Regions from separate parts of the Homo sapiens genome. Here region 1 is linked to region 2. Evidence: promoter capture Hi-C in human tissues and cell types (Jung and others, 2019). All regions are on one chromosome and are shown on one strand. Each heading gives the region's core, a stretch centred on a gene start or on the middle of the fragment in contact. The rest is flanking DNA. Distances are from core to core; before and after follow the strand shown.

What was found. Contacts are between HindIII fragments. The study calls those that stand out against the background at their distance.
Region 1: a fragment that was not itself captured here is called in contact with the fragment with the promoter of KDM2B in region 2 in 1 of the 25 tissues and cell types used here (spleen).

What each region holds. Positions count from the first base shown.
Region 1 is chr12:121,523,181-121,529,837 of GRCh38, forward strand. All of the region lies in intron 8 of KDM2B (lysine demethylase 2B), which reads right to left. Among named protein-coding and RNA genes, the nearest start is that of KDM2B-DT, 54 kb to the right of the region's middle. RefSeq lists enhancers at 32-221, 6,318-6,657. The HindIII fragment of the contact is 6,227 bases long and covers 1-4,762 here.
Region 2 is chr12:121,579,367-121,586,959 of GRCh38, forward strand. KDM2B (lysine demethylase 2B) reads right to left here and starts at 1,657. Exons shown (of 23, transcript NM_032590.5): 1 at 1,420-1,657. The coding sequence starts at 1,545. It overlaps KDM2B-DT (KDM2B divergent transcript), which reads left to right and starts at 1,145. Exons shown (of 4, transcript NR_183427.1): 1 at 1,145-1,897. RefSeq lists silencers at 938-1,247, 1,328-1,377 and enhancers at 947-1,882, 2,818-3,753, 3,754-4,687. The HindIII fragment of the contact is 18,580 bases long and covers 1-7,593 here.

The sequences.
Region 1 (6,657 bases), core at 399-2,898, 56 kb before region 2:
TTTTAGCCAGCACGCTGCACAGCTGCCGCTGCATCAAAGGTTCTGCACAGGACTGCAAGTCCCGGGGGAAAGGCTGGGAAATACAGAGGGGAGGCAAAAGGAGAAACGCAGAGAGAAATAAGGACAAGGGCGGACAGAGGCGGAGCAACTCACAGTGAAGGACAGAGGAGGGTTGGCTGGGGGAATGGTGCAGCAGAGGGAAGGGTGGCGGTGCCCCAAGACCCTGCACCTTGAAGGGCCTGGCCCTGGAGGCCGCTGTCCCCTCCTCTCCCAGCCATGCACTTTATTCTTTTGCTCTGAGGAAAATTACAGCGACTGCCTCTGCCCCCCAAGCCCGAGCGGTTCCAGTCTGTCCCCCAATGAAACACGCCAGCCCTGAGTCATGGGTGGTCACCACTGCTGGGAGCAACGCTCCTGCCTGGAAGACAGCACAGACTGCGGGGCCACTGCTGGCATCCGCAGTGGACACTCAGCCGCTGTCCCTTCCCACCAGGGCAACGCATGGAACAGAGCTGGCCATCCTCAGGGGAGAGCAAGGGAAAGCTCATCACCAGAAGCCCAGTGCTGCCGGGTACAGGCACGAGGGCTTTGCTTTAGGCAACCTCGTTCTGTGCCTGGCTCCCCGGGTCTCTGGCGTGAGCCATGAAAGACAGCTGCTCTGTGCGGTTGCAAGCGGCCGTCGAGCTCCCCAGCTTCCCATCCCACGACCTTCACCCTCCTCTGCACAGAAGCATGGCTGCCGCCCTGAAAGAGCCTCTGTCTCCACATCCGCTTCAGTCTCCTGCCTCTGCTGCCTGCAGGCTGACCTCAACATTTCCATGTTTCCACCAAGTGGAACCATGCTATTGAATGCTGTTATTGTCGCCATCCCCGTTATCCTAGCAACATTTCCTAAGATTGGGACCCGGGACCACCGGGTCATGTGATGCACAGGCAGGTGCATCTTATATGGCCCCACAAGCCTACCTCCCTCCCTGCAGAAAGCCCAAGTCCAGGGGCTAGGGTTCCATCCTGTCCCCTCCACTCCCCTCCCTTCTGGGGAACTTGGTGAGCAAGTCCTGAATCCATATAAGCAATTGGCATTGGTATCTGTGGTTGTCTCTGTCGATCACAAGGGCTCTGGTAGAGGATGGTGCCCACATGCATCCATCTTTCCCAGCCCTGGACTCTCCCTGTTCTCCTGGCAGGTGCAGAGGCCAACGCACCTGACTTACATCTGTTGCCCTGACACGTGAGGAAAGAGGAACACAGAGGAGAGCTGCTGCTGCGAGGAGGGGGCAGGGGATCTGCACGCCCAGACACTCGAGGGATTCTAGAAGCTTTTACCCACTCCCCTTCGCAGCCAGGGCCTCAAGGGTGGGTCAGGCAGCCACCCCTGGATTAGCCGCCACTGCGTCCCTCCCCCAGCTCTGCTCACATCTGCTTCATTACCCACATGCCTCCCTCAGTAAGAAGGAGGTGTGGAAATAACAGCGTTTGTGGGCCCCATCCATACCCCTCCTCCGATGGCCTCTCGACAGCCCAGGAAGCATGAGAGCCGGTGCTCCCAGGCTGCTGCCTGGGCTGGGAACGCTGGCATCTGCCTCCTGCTTCCAGCCAGAGTCATCGACAATATGAAGGCAATAAACAGAGGCTATTCAGGCCAAGCGACCAGGGACAGATGCAGTCATAGATGGGAAGCCAGTGATACACAAAGCAGCACATTCTCTGGGACCTCAGGGGGCCCAAGAAGGGCAGCAGGGGCAGGTGGGGCTCACCCACAACCTGAGCGTCTGCTCAGGACTCGGAATCCAAAGGCCCCACCCACATCTGCCTCCACCTCTGTGGCTTTAGCAGGAATAAACCTAGAGGTCTCAGAACTGGGCAAGGGACACCTCACAGACGCCCACAACCCAACCGGACCCTGGCTTCTTTCACCGACATCAGTGAACTCCCTGCGCCGGGCCAGGATCAGGAACGAACCTGTGGCTGCTGACATGAAGTAAGGATACTCTCCCTTCAAGGACCTCATAGTTGGGACCAGGGGCCAATTACTTCACGCCACCCCATGTTTAAAAATGGGGATATTTCTTTTGTTGTTGTTTTGTTGGGTTTTTGTTTTTTTGAGACAGAGCCTTACTGTGTCACCCAGGCTGGAGTGCAGTGGTGCCATCTCGGCTCACTGCAACCTCCACCTCCCAGGTTCAAGCCATTCTCCTGCCTCAGCCTCCTGAGTAGCTGGAATCACAGGCACACAAATTTTTACTAGAGATGAGGTTTTACCATGTTGGCCAAGCCGGTCTCTAACTCCCAGCCTCAGGTGATCCGCCCACCTCAGCCTCCCAAAGTGCTAAGTGCTGGGATTACAGGCGTGAGCCACCGTGCCACGCCAGTACATTCCATGTGACAATCTGAAATGCTGCCTTCCACCTAGAAAAATAGGAAGGTCTGGATTCCCACCTGGCCCTAGCTGGACTGGCTGAGCAGGTACTGCCCAGTTTCCCACGGCCCCAACCCATCCAGTCCCCTTCCCTGCTTTAGACCCATTTGATAGATGGATCGTCTGAGGCCCAACCACGTGACACCATTAAGGAATTTCTTCTCAGACTTGCTGGAGTGTAAGAAATACCTGGGGCTACCATGATATTTGGGTCTTCAGTGGTTCTTTCTAGAATGCAAGGATGGGAAATAACTTTAGGCCAGCCCAAGTCACAGATCCCTGGGTCTTCCCCAGGCACTGCCATCCCCACTTATATGACAAATAAGGTCCCCATACTGGCCTCTGCCACCCTGGATGCCACCTGGCTGGATAAGCTGCTCTCAGGAGGGAGGGGATCTGTCTTATGTCCCCTCCAAGGCCCCCCACATCATCTGGCACCAAGTGGGCCCTTAAGAAAGTTTGTTAAATGAAGCCGAGACTGGTAGCTCACACCTGTAATCCCAGCACTTTGGGAGGCCAAGGCAGGCGGATCACTTGAAGTCAGGAGTTTGAAACCAGCCTGGCCAACATGATGAAACCCCGTCTCTACTAAAAATAGAAAAAATTAGCTGGGTGTGGTGGCACACGCCTGTAATCCCAGCTACTCAGGAGGCTGAGGCAGGAGAATCACTTGAACCCAGGAGGTAAAAGTTGCAGTGAGCCAATATTGTGCCATTGCCCTCCAGCCTGGGTGACAGAGCAAGACTCTGCCTCAGGGGAAAAAAAAAAGAAAGTTTGTTAAATGAGCAAATAGTTCTCACATAGTCAAGAGTCAAGAAGGAGGACCAGATCCCAAGTCTCCTGACTCCCAAGCTACTGGAGTTCAAAGTAGGTATATTTAGGAATATGTGTTTTCAAAGTAGGCACACCTGGGTTCTTGCTCTGACCTGGTCACTGTGAGATCTTGGGCCTTAGGTATTTTCTTTATTTGTTTAAAAAAAAATGGTGTCACATGCCTGTAGTCCCAGCTACCCTAGAGGCTGTGATAGGACGATTGTTTAAGCCCAGGAGGTCAAGGCAACACTGCAATGAGCTGTGATCACAACATTGCACTCCAGTCTGGGCACAAGAGCAAGACCATGTCTCTAAAACAAAATTTAAAAATTTTTTTAGCCGGGCACAGTGGCTCACACCTGTAATCCCAGCACTTGGGGAGGCCGAGGCGGGCCGATCACCTGAGGTCAGGAGTTCAAGACCAGCCTGGGCAACATGGTAAAACCACGTCTCTACTAAAACTACAAAAATTAGCTGGGCGTGGTGGTGCACACTTGTAATCCCAGCTACTCAGGAGGCTGAGGCAGGAGAATCACTTGAACCCAGGAGGCGGAGGTTGCAGTGAGCCGAGATCATGCCATTGCACTCCAGCCTTGGCAACAAGAGCAACGCTCTGTCTGAAAAATTAAATAAATTTCTTTTTTATATTTTTTGAGACGGAGTCTCGCTCTGTCGCCCAGGCTGGAGTGCAGTGACGTGATCTCTGCTCACTGCAAGCTCTGCCTCCCGGGTTCACACCATTCTCTGGCCTCAGCCTCCCGAGCAGCTGGTACTACATAGGCACCCGCCGCCACGCCCAGATAATTTTTTTTTTTTTGTATTTTTAGTAGAGACGGGGTTTCACCGTGTTAGCCAGGATGGTCTCAATCTCCTGATCTGCCCGCCTTGGCCTCCCAAAGTGCTGGGATTACAGGCGTGAGCCACTGTGCCCAGCCTAAAAAAAAATTGTTTAAAAAAAGGTGGGGAGGCCGGGCACGGTGGCTCACACCTGTAATCCCAGCACTTTGGGAGGCCAAGGCGGGCAGATCAGGAGATTGAGACCATCCTGGCTAACACGGTGAAACCCCGTCTCTACTAAAAATACAAAAAAAGTTAGCCGGGCATGGTGGCAGGCGCCTGTAGTCCCAGCTACTCAGGAGGCTGAAACAGGAGAATGGCGTGAACCCAGGAAGCAGAGCTTGCAGTGAGCTGAGATCGCGCCACTGCACTCCAGACTGGGTGACAGAGGGAGACTCCGTCTCAAAAAAAAAAAAAAAAAAAAAAAAGTGGGGAATATTACATTTTTCCATAAATGCTTGCAGAGAAGATACATAATGTACATAAAATGTTCACTGGATCAAGCCATGCTACTCCAGCCTGGGCAACAAAGTAAGACCCTGACTCAATAAAATAAAATAAAATTTGTAAATGTTCATTGCTTATAACTGTTAACTATAGCTCACCTAGGCTGGCACAGCCAGAGTGGGGAGGCCGAGCCTGCAAATGTGGCCAGTATGCTCCCATAGGCCAGGTTGAGTTGGAGGAAAAAGACATCACCTGGTTCACCCCAGGTACTTAAAGTTTCCAACCTCCTATTCCCCGGGGGTGACTTCCACCTCCAGCTTTCCTTACTGATAATTATAAGGCTAACACCTGGTGACCCCTAGGCACTGTTTACTGTGGCCTTGATGTCCTGACCCTGACGCTGTATTCTCACCTCCTGCCTCATCAAGGTATAGCCAGCTAGGCAGGGCAAGCTCAAACCCCTTTCTCCAGGTCATTCTACTCCTCAGTCACCTTCAACGGTCTTCCTCTTCCAGGCAGCTCTCCTAGGTTACCTAGGAATAAAGCCTGAAGAATAGCACCATTTAAAATCTTCCTTGGCAGCCGGGCGCTATGGCTTATGCCTGTAATCCCAGCACTTTGGGAGGCTGAGGCAGCAGGATCACTTGAGGCCAGGAATTTGAGACCAGGTTGATCAACATGGAAAAACCCCGTCTCCACTAAAAACACAAAAGTTAGCCGGGCCCGGTAGCGTACGCTTGTAATCCCAGCTACTCAGGAGGCTGAGGCATGAGAATTGCTTAAACTTGGGAGGTGGAGGTTGCAGTGAGTCGAGATGGTGCCCAGTGCACTCCAGCCTAGGCAACAGGGTGAGACTCTGTCTCAAAAAAATGAAAAAATAATAAATAAATAAATAAATAAATAAATAAGGTCTTCCTTGGATGCATAGCTGAATTCTATCAGACATTCAAAGATGACTTGGCAAGCCAAGCAGATCACCTGAGGTCAGGAGTTTGAGACCAGCCTGGGCAACATGGTGAAACCCCATCTCTACTAAAAATACAAAAATTAGCCAGGCGTGGCGGCACATGCCTGTAATCCCAGCTACTTGGGAGGCTGAGGCTGGAGAATCGCTTGAACTTGGGAGGCGGAGGTTACAGTGAGCTGAGATCGTGCCACTGCACTCCAGCTTGGGTAACAAGAGTGAAACTCTGTCTCAAAAAAACAAAACAAAACAAAGATGACTTGGTACCAATCCTGTTGACACTATTCCAAAAGAGAGGGAAAGAGAGAATCCTCTCTGAATCATTCTATGAAGCCAGTATCACCCTAATACCCAAACCAGGAAAGGACATAACAAAAAGGAAACTAAAGACCAATATCCCTGATTAACATAGATGCAAAAAACCTCAACAAAATACTAGTAACTAAATCCAACAGCATATCAACAAGATAATCCCTCCATGATCAAGTGGGTTTCATGCCAGGGATGGTTTAACATACACATGTCGATAAATGTGATACACCACGTAAACAGAATTAAAAATTAAAAAATCACACGATCATCTGAATAGACACAGAAAAAGCATTTGACAAAATCCAGCATCCCTTTATGATGAAAGTCTTCCTAAACCATCAGCATCCTATGAGCTTTCAGAGAACTGAAGACTCCATGAACCACGGACTGGGAGGCGTGAGGTCAGTGTGGCAGGAGGAGAGGTGCCTAAGGTCACACTGTGGCAATGAAAACTCAGGTCAGAGGTGGGAAATGCCAGAATTCAATTCTCTGCTTCAATACAGAAAAACTCCCATCCAGGGAGCTGCAAACCCTTTCTGGGTTTCCCAAGACTCTCTCCTCAAAGCCACAAATCAAGTACCACGAATCTCAGATGTGTGTCTGTACGTGGCTCAGAGGGTGTGAATGCTGGAGAGAATCCCCAGGCCTGGGGAGGACCTAAAATACTCATCTAGGGGCTGGGCGCGGTGGCTCATGTCTGTAATCCCAGCATTTTGGGAGGCCGAGGCGGGTGGATCACTTGACCCTAGGAGTTCGAGACCTGCCTGGACAACATGGCAAAACCCCGTTGCTACTAAAAATACAAAAATTAGCCGGGCATGGTGGCGTGTACCTGTAATCTCAGCTACTAGGGAGGCTGAGGCAG
Region 2 (7,593 bases), core at 407-2,906:
CCCAGCGGCCGCGGCGGCAGAGCCGGGAAGCCGGAACCGGGGGCCGGCGGCATTTCTAAAGCTGGAGCCGCCCCCGAGCTACCGGGGAAGCTGGAAAGCTGAAATGGAAGGGCTGAGACCCCAGCCGCCCCCGCCGCCCGCCCGCCAGTGCAAGAAGAGGAGGTGGGGGGAGGAGAATCGGGGCTTGGAAGGGGGAGAGGCAGACGGCCCGCCACAAAGCTCGGATCGGAGACCCCAAAACGCACCAGCAGCTGCCTCATCTCCCCACAAGCGCGCGCGCACACTCACTTCCTAAGGAGACTCCCCCACCACTCCCCGCATCCCCCTGCCTCCTCCCTCCACCGCCCAGCGCCCGGCCCCTCAGCCCCCCAGATTCCGGGCGAACCCCGAGCCCGCTCAGCCCCCCTCCACGCCTTTCCCCGATACCACCTCCCCACTTAAGTGTCTGAGACTCTAAGCCTCACAAGGGGCTGGAGGAGTAAGCAGCTTGCTTCCTTTTGCATGCAATTTATTATATTTTTTTCCCGGTCCTCTTGCAAAATACAGAAAAGGAAAGAAAAGGCAGCGAGAAACAACCAAAAAAAAAAAAAAAAAGATCTATCATATGCCAGATACAGATTTGGAAAAAAAAAAAAAAAAAAAAAGCTACACACCAATCTTCTTCCAGAGTCTTTCTCTGCCTCCATTTTTTTAGGAGAGTTCACCAATTAATTGTCAACACTCCTGCCCCCTGCATTTTGGCCGAGGGGGGAAGGAGGGAAGACCAAAGAAAACAAACCAAAAAATAAATAAATAAAGCAAGCCAGAGCCGAGATCTACAAAGTTTTGCACCAACACTTAGGCAGATCCGTTTGCAAAGTCCTAGGAAACCATTTTCAGCAGTTGTGGGGGGGGGGAGGCGTCGACGTCATAATCCCCGGAACGTAAACATTGTTGCCGATCGCGCTCGGAGCCCGCGGCCGGGCTATTTGGGGGGGCTCTCGGCCCGGGCTTGGGGGGGTGGGGGCGGCGGCCCGAGGAGGTATGGGGCGGGGAGGGAGCCCGGGAGGCACCGGGCGCCGTTAGCGCCGTGGCATCGCTGTTTTGTTGTTGGGTCACGAGTGCGCCTCTGCACGCAGGCGCCGCCGCCGCCCGGGAGTTGTGTGCAGAGCTGACTTTTGGAGGGCCGAGTTGCAGGCGGCGGGCGCATCCCGGAGATGGCGGGGCAGGGAGGGAGGGAAGGAGGAGGGGGCGGGGAGGGAGGTGCAGATTTGCACGGCTGGCCTCAGCGGGAGGCGCGGAAATGCAAGCCGAGCATGCTGGCGTGAAAGCCCCCGGGGCCTGGCACCCCCAAAAACGACCCCCCACCTCCGTTCCTGCCCTCATTGCCCAGGGCTACCCCTCTTCCTCTTCTTTCATCCACCCCTCCCCCAACATTACCTGTGTGGCCGACTCAAATTCAAAGCATTTTGTATATATAACTGTTTTCTTTTTTTGCTTTTCTGCTGCATGTCTTTTTCGTGGGGGGTGATCCTCTGCAGATCCCCCCATTTGCGGACCCGCCATGTGGAGGAGGCATTTGGGGGGCTCAGAAGGAAATTAGCTCGGCTTCCATACCTATAAGGACTGCCTAACTTTTAAACTCCCGGCACTCAAAGATGTGGACACACACACGTACAGGAAATACAGCCAGACCAGAGCCTTTGCAGTCCGCAGCTGACCGGAAGACGTTGCCTTTCATTCATTCATTCTGCCCGCCTCTGTGGACTCCTTTACTAGGCGACCAGCCCTGAAACAGAAGTTGGACATTTTTTAAAGGTTCTTGCGCTCGGCAAGGGGAGCAGATAGATGCTCAGGAGCGAAAGACGCAGAGAATTGGATCTGGCGCCTCCTAACGCAGCCCGCACAGGAGCGAAGGGTAAGCCCTTGTTGGTAGTTTATAGAAGACAAGTCGGTGGAAAGGTGCATGGTGCTCTGGGATAGGTGGGGGGAACTCTAGTGCCCTTGATGAAGCCCCTACAGGGCTTCTTAGCGGAGGTATCGGCACCCTCCGTACATACATGGGTGTCATTAGGTCCCTGTCCACTTACTAGTGTTTTTGACTACCCCAGCACTGGTCCTGGGTTGTCTTGTCCTCCCATCATGAGCAACAGTCAGGTCGACTTGGCTTGAGAAAAGCTAGCCCTAAACATTCCTCCAGCCCCAGCTGTGGCGCCCTGCTAGGCCTGATCTTGCGGGTAAAGATGCTGATAAAATGACATGGCAAGAGGGAGACGATAAAGGGACATTGTAGATAGCAGGCTTTGAGCCTGACATTTTATTTCTGCCATAACCCTGTGGGATACTTGGAGCAGGTCATTTTGCAGATAGGGAAACTGAAGCTCAGAGAAATTATGAATCTGAATGATTGCTGTGCTCCCATATGGTCCCCAGGCTATCAGACAGACCTGTGGGGAGGACGTGGCTTCCCCACCAGGAGATACGATGTCACTATCAGCATCGTATTGGCCGTCCTAAGAGACAGCTTCCCCCTCACTCACCTTAGAAGTTTCCTGTCCTATCTGACTGTAGTCTTTCCCACCCATCCTCAAAGGCTACTCTTTGAAGTTTGTTTTCATTCATGTTCACTAGCTGTAAAAATCTTTTAAGCAGGGATGAGGCTGGGAAACATCAAAATTTGTTTCCAAACTGAAATCGCCCACGTTGGCTGCTGCGTGCAATCAGTAGCCCTTCGTGTGAGTGCTGCCGGTTCTGCCTTCAGTCCGTCCAGAACCATGGACCATTTTATTTGTTCCTGTCTTTCTCACAAGAACCCTTTAAGGGAAATCGTCTTGTTCGTTCCCATTTTGCAAAGGAGGAAATTAGGACTAAGAAAAGCAAAGCCACTCACCCAGGATCACATAGCGCGTATGTGCCGCTGCCAGGGCTCACACTGGAGCCTGGCTTGGCCATCACGTGCTTTTTTTTTTTTTTTTTTTTTTTTTAGTAACTTACCAGCCTCACTACTGCCCCATAATGAAATAAACATGTTCAAAGGAGGCTGCATGGGCTGGAGAGTGACGCAAAGTGAATTAAGTGAAATAAAGCAAAAAATATATAATAGAATGCTTCATCTAATTAATTCTTTTTTCTCCCTGAGGCCCTTCTTTCTCTCCAAGTGGCCTCATAGTGGCCCCAAAAGCTGGCATCAGAAAAAGGTCCAATGGCAGCCACCTTAGTATAAAAACAGTTAAGTCCATCTATCACCTCCACGAGGAGTTCCTGGCCTGTCAGAGTGGGAAGGGGCTGGGTAGTCACCTCATTTAATCCCCCCCCTTTACAAACCTCGAGGAAACCGCAAACACGAGAAAAGAATGGGCCAGCCGGGGGTTTGTTCCCCTTGGCCTCCCCCAGAATGCCTGCCCTGCTGCCGGGTCCTAAGTGGCCACTCAATAAATGTTGGGCCCTTGATGAATCACCTTCCCCCTCGATATTTGCATTTTCTCTTTATCAGTAATTGGCAGATGAAAGGCTTTGTCCTCCAGTTGAAAGAATTCCAAGCATTTGCTCAAAGTGGGGGAGGAGGTTATTTTGGACCAAAGGGGGAAGGGCCAAGACCCTGGAGCTCCCAGTGTTGACTAATTGTCCCAGAGAAGTGGAGAGTAGGTAAGGGAAGAGAGAAGGTGAAGGTGCTTACCCCAGAGATGTACTTTTTCTTGCAGGAAAACACCGGGCCGGTTGTATTGGAAACATAATAATAATTATTTCCTGGACCCTCCTGCTCGATCTTACAAAGGGCCCAGTCAAATCCTGCCTGAGTTACCCCCATTCATTCTTCATTCATCAAAGGTTGATTGAGCAACTCTGTGCCCAAAGACAGAGAGGCTAGAGAAAAGAAGATGCAGCGTGGGGCATGCAGATTGGGGCATACTCGAGGCTGGGTAGGACGATGGACCTGCAGCTTCCCAAGGAAAGGGTGGACACTGGATGTAGCTCTCAGAAACCAGAATCTTGATAAGAAATTGAAGTTGTTCTCATATTCATATATGATTATCATAACTCCTGATTTTTCTTTTCTTTTTTTTGAGAGAGGGTCTTGCTCTGTTGCCCAGGCTGGAGTGCAGTGACACAATCTCAGCTCACTGCAACCTCCACCTCCTGGACTCAGCAATGCTCCACCTTAGCCTTCCAAGTAGCTGAGACTACAGGAGTGCACCACCATGCCCAGCTAATTTTTGTATTTTTGGTAGAGACAGGGTTTTGCCGTGTTGCCCAGGCTGGTCTCCAACTCCTAGGCTCAAGTGTTCCTCCCACCTCGGCCTCCCAAAGTGCTGAGATTACAGCCGTAAGCCACCACACCTGGCCCTGTTTTGTTTTAATTTAAGGATATCTAATCATTCCACATCAGCATATGTGGAATGCTATAGCACATCAGCTATAGTTTCCTTATTCTTTCTAATGATTTCATAGCATTTCATTGGGCAGATAAATGGTGCAAGAATGATTTAATTAGTTCCCTAACTTTTAGATGGTTTTCAATCTTTTTCTATTGCAAACAGAGCTATAAGGGATTGCAGCTTTGTGCTTGAGTCTGTCAGTAGAATATATATCTGAAAGTGATCATCCACGTCTCAGGATTCCTACCCTATCACCAACTATTTGTCCTTGAGAAGTTTATTTGTAAGATCTGAGCAGGTGGGACAACCTCATATCCAACTGGTATCCCCAGGAGTCTACGCAGTGCCATGCCCTTGGCAGGCACTCAGAGAGAGTGGTTTAAGGGCTAACACTGCAAGCATTCACACTGTAATCAGATGGCCTCTTCTAGGAAACCTTTGCTGATATCCTTGGCCCCCTTTCCCCATGGACCCTTCATTCATTCCACAAATGTTTGTGGAAGGTTGATTAGGGGGACCCTGTATCAAATCAGCCTCTTAGGTATATATAGCCTGGTAGGTGAGTTAAAACAAATTCTGGAAAGCACTCTAAGGCTGTGCTGTTTGATGGGATACATTAGCTACATACAGCTACTTAAATTTAATTAAAATAAAATGTAAAATTCAGCTCCTTAACCCAGTACCTACATTTGAAGGGGCTAGAAGTGACAGCACTGAATGGTGCAGATACAGAATATCCCTATCATTGGCTGGGCGCTGTGGGTCACACCTGTAATCCCAGCATTTTGGGATGCTGAGGCAGGTGGATCACCTGAGGTCAGGAGTTCAAGACCAGCCTGGCCAACAGGATGAAACCCCCGTCTCTATTAAAAATACAAAAATTGGACAAGCGTGGTGGTGCACACCTGTAATCCCAGCAACTCGGGAGGCTGAGGCAGGAGAATTGCTTGAACCCAGGAGGCAGAGTTTGCAATGAGCTGATTGCACCACTGCACTCAAGCCTGGGTGACAGAGGGGGATTCTGTCTCAAAAAAAAAAAAAGAATATCTTGAATAACTCTATCATCTTCTGTGGGACAGCCCTGAAGGGAGGCTTAGCATAGTGGGCAACCCTGTGGGCTCTGGATTCCTGTAAGCTCTGAGTTCGAATCCTATCATTATTTCCTAGCTATAAAATTTGGCCAAGCAAGTTAACCTGTCTTTGAGCCTCAGCCATAAAGGTGGGGAATTACAGCCCCTTATGGAGATTTGGCAAGGATTCAAAGGTACTGCAAATGTGAGGGGCTTTGCACAAAGTCATAGTAATATTATAAAAAATCTGGAGTGAAGCCAGGCGCAGTGGCTCATGCCTATAATCCCAGCAATTTGGGAGGCCAAGGCGGACAGATCACCTGTGCTCAGGAGTTCGAGACCAGCTTGGGCAACATGATAAAACCCTATCTCTACTAAAAATACAAAAATTAGCTGGGTGTGGTGGCGTGCGCCTGTAGTCCCAGCTACTCAGGAGGCTGAGGCACAAGAACCGCTTGAACCCAGGAGGCAGAGGTTGCAGTGAGCCAAGATCATTCACTGCACTCCAGCCTGGGTGACATCCCGAGACTCCGTCTCCAAACCAAAACGAAACTAAACAACATGCAGAATACTAATAATACTAAGTTGTGCGGACCATGTAAGGAAACCAAAAGGGTTATGTCTGTATCTACATGCTTTTTTTTTTTTTTTTTTTTTTGTGAGACAGAGTCTTGCTATAACACCCAGGCTGGAGTACAATGGCACAATCTCGGCTCACTGAAACCTCCGCCTCCCGGGTTCAAGCAATTCTCCTGCCTCAGCCTCCCAAGTAGCTGGGACTACAGGCGCATACCACCATGCCCGGCTGATTTTTGTGTTTTTAGTAGAGACAGGGTTTCACCATACTGGCCAGGCAGGTCTCAAACTTCTGACCTCAGGTGATCCGCCCATCTCGGCCTCCCAGACTGCTGGGACTACAGGCATGAGCCACCGTGCCCGACCCATACATTCTTTAGTATGTGCAGAATTTCCTTTGGAAAGATCAAAAAGTGAGAAAAAGAACTGGGAAAAGAGAAGAAAGCCTATTTTTTGGTAAAGTGATATTTTTACCACATATGTACATGAACGGTGCCTGATTTTAAACCTTATTGACTTAATCTCATTTTAGATGCTGTAGTACCTCTTGAATTTTGTACCGCACAGATGTATTACCTACTCAAAAATAATTCCATTTTATTCCTTTTTTAAGTCTATAAGATTCAAAATCAGGCAAACCTAAACCAAAACTAAATTTTTTTTTTTTTTTTGAGACAGGGTCTTGCTCTGTCACCCAGGCTCTGGTGTGCAGTGGTGTGATCACAGCTCACTGTAGCCTCCACCTCCCGCGCTCAGGCAATGCTCCCACCTCAGACTCCCGAGTAGCTGGGACTTGTAGGCATGCAAGACCAGGCCCAGCTAATTTTGGTACTTTTTGTAGGGACTCTGTTTTGCCATGTTACTCAGGCTGTTCTCAAACTCCTGAGCTCAAGTGATCCACCCCTCAGCCTCCCAAAGTGGGGGATTACAGGCTAAATATTCTTTAGATATAGATACATAAGTCACAAAACAGGAATAAAAGCAAGGAATGATTAACACAAAATGCTGCAAAAGACCATTCAGGAAAGGAATGTGAACAGAGATACTAGTGACTTTCTGTTTCTTAATCCACCTGCTGGGCATCTAAGACTGTTCCTTAAAGTATAGTTAAATATTTTTCAGATTCTATTGTATTTATGAGATATTCCACAATTTTTTCTTTTTCTTTTTTTTCTTTTTTTTTTTGAGACGGAGTCTCGCTCTGTCGCCCAGGCTGGAGTGCAGTGGCATGATCTCGGGTCACTGCAACCTCTGCCTCCCTGGTTCAAGCGATTCTCCTGCCTCAGCCTCCTGAGTAGCTGGGACTACAGGCAAATGCCGCCACACCCAGCTAATTTTTGTATTTTTTGTAGAGACGGGGTTTTGCCATGTTGGCCAGGCTGGTCTCGAACTTCTGAGCTCAGGTGATCTGCCCGCCTCAGCCTCCCAAAGTGCTGGGATTACAGGCCTGAGGCACTGCGCCCAGCCTTATTTTCTTGTATTATTGTATCACAGAAATATACACACCAGCCAGGTGCTGTGGCTCATGCCTGTAATCCCACCACTTTGGAAGGCCAAGGTGGGCAGATCATTTGAGGTAAGGAGTTGGAGAC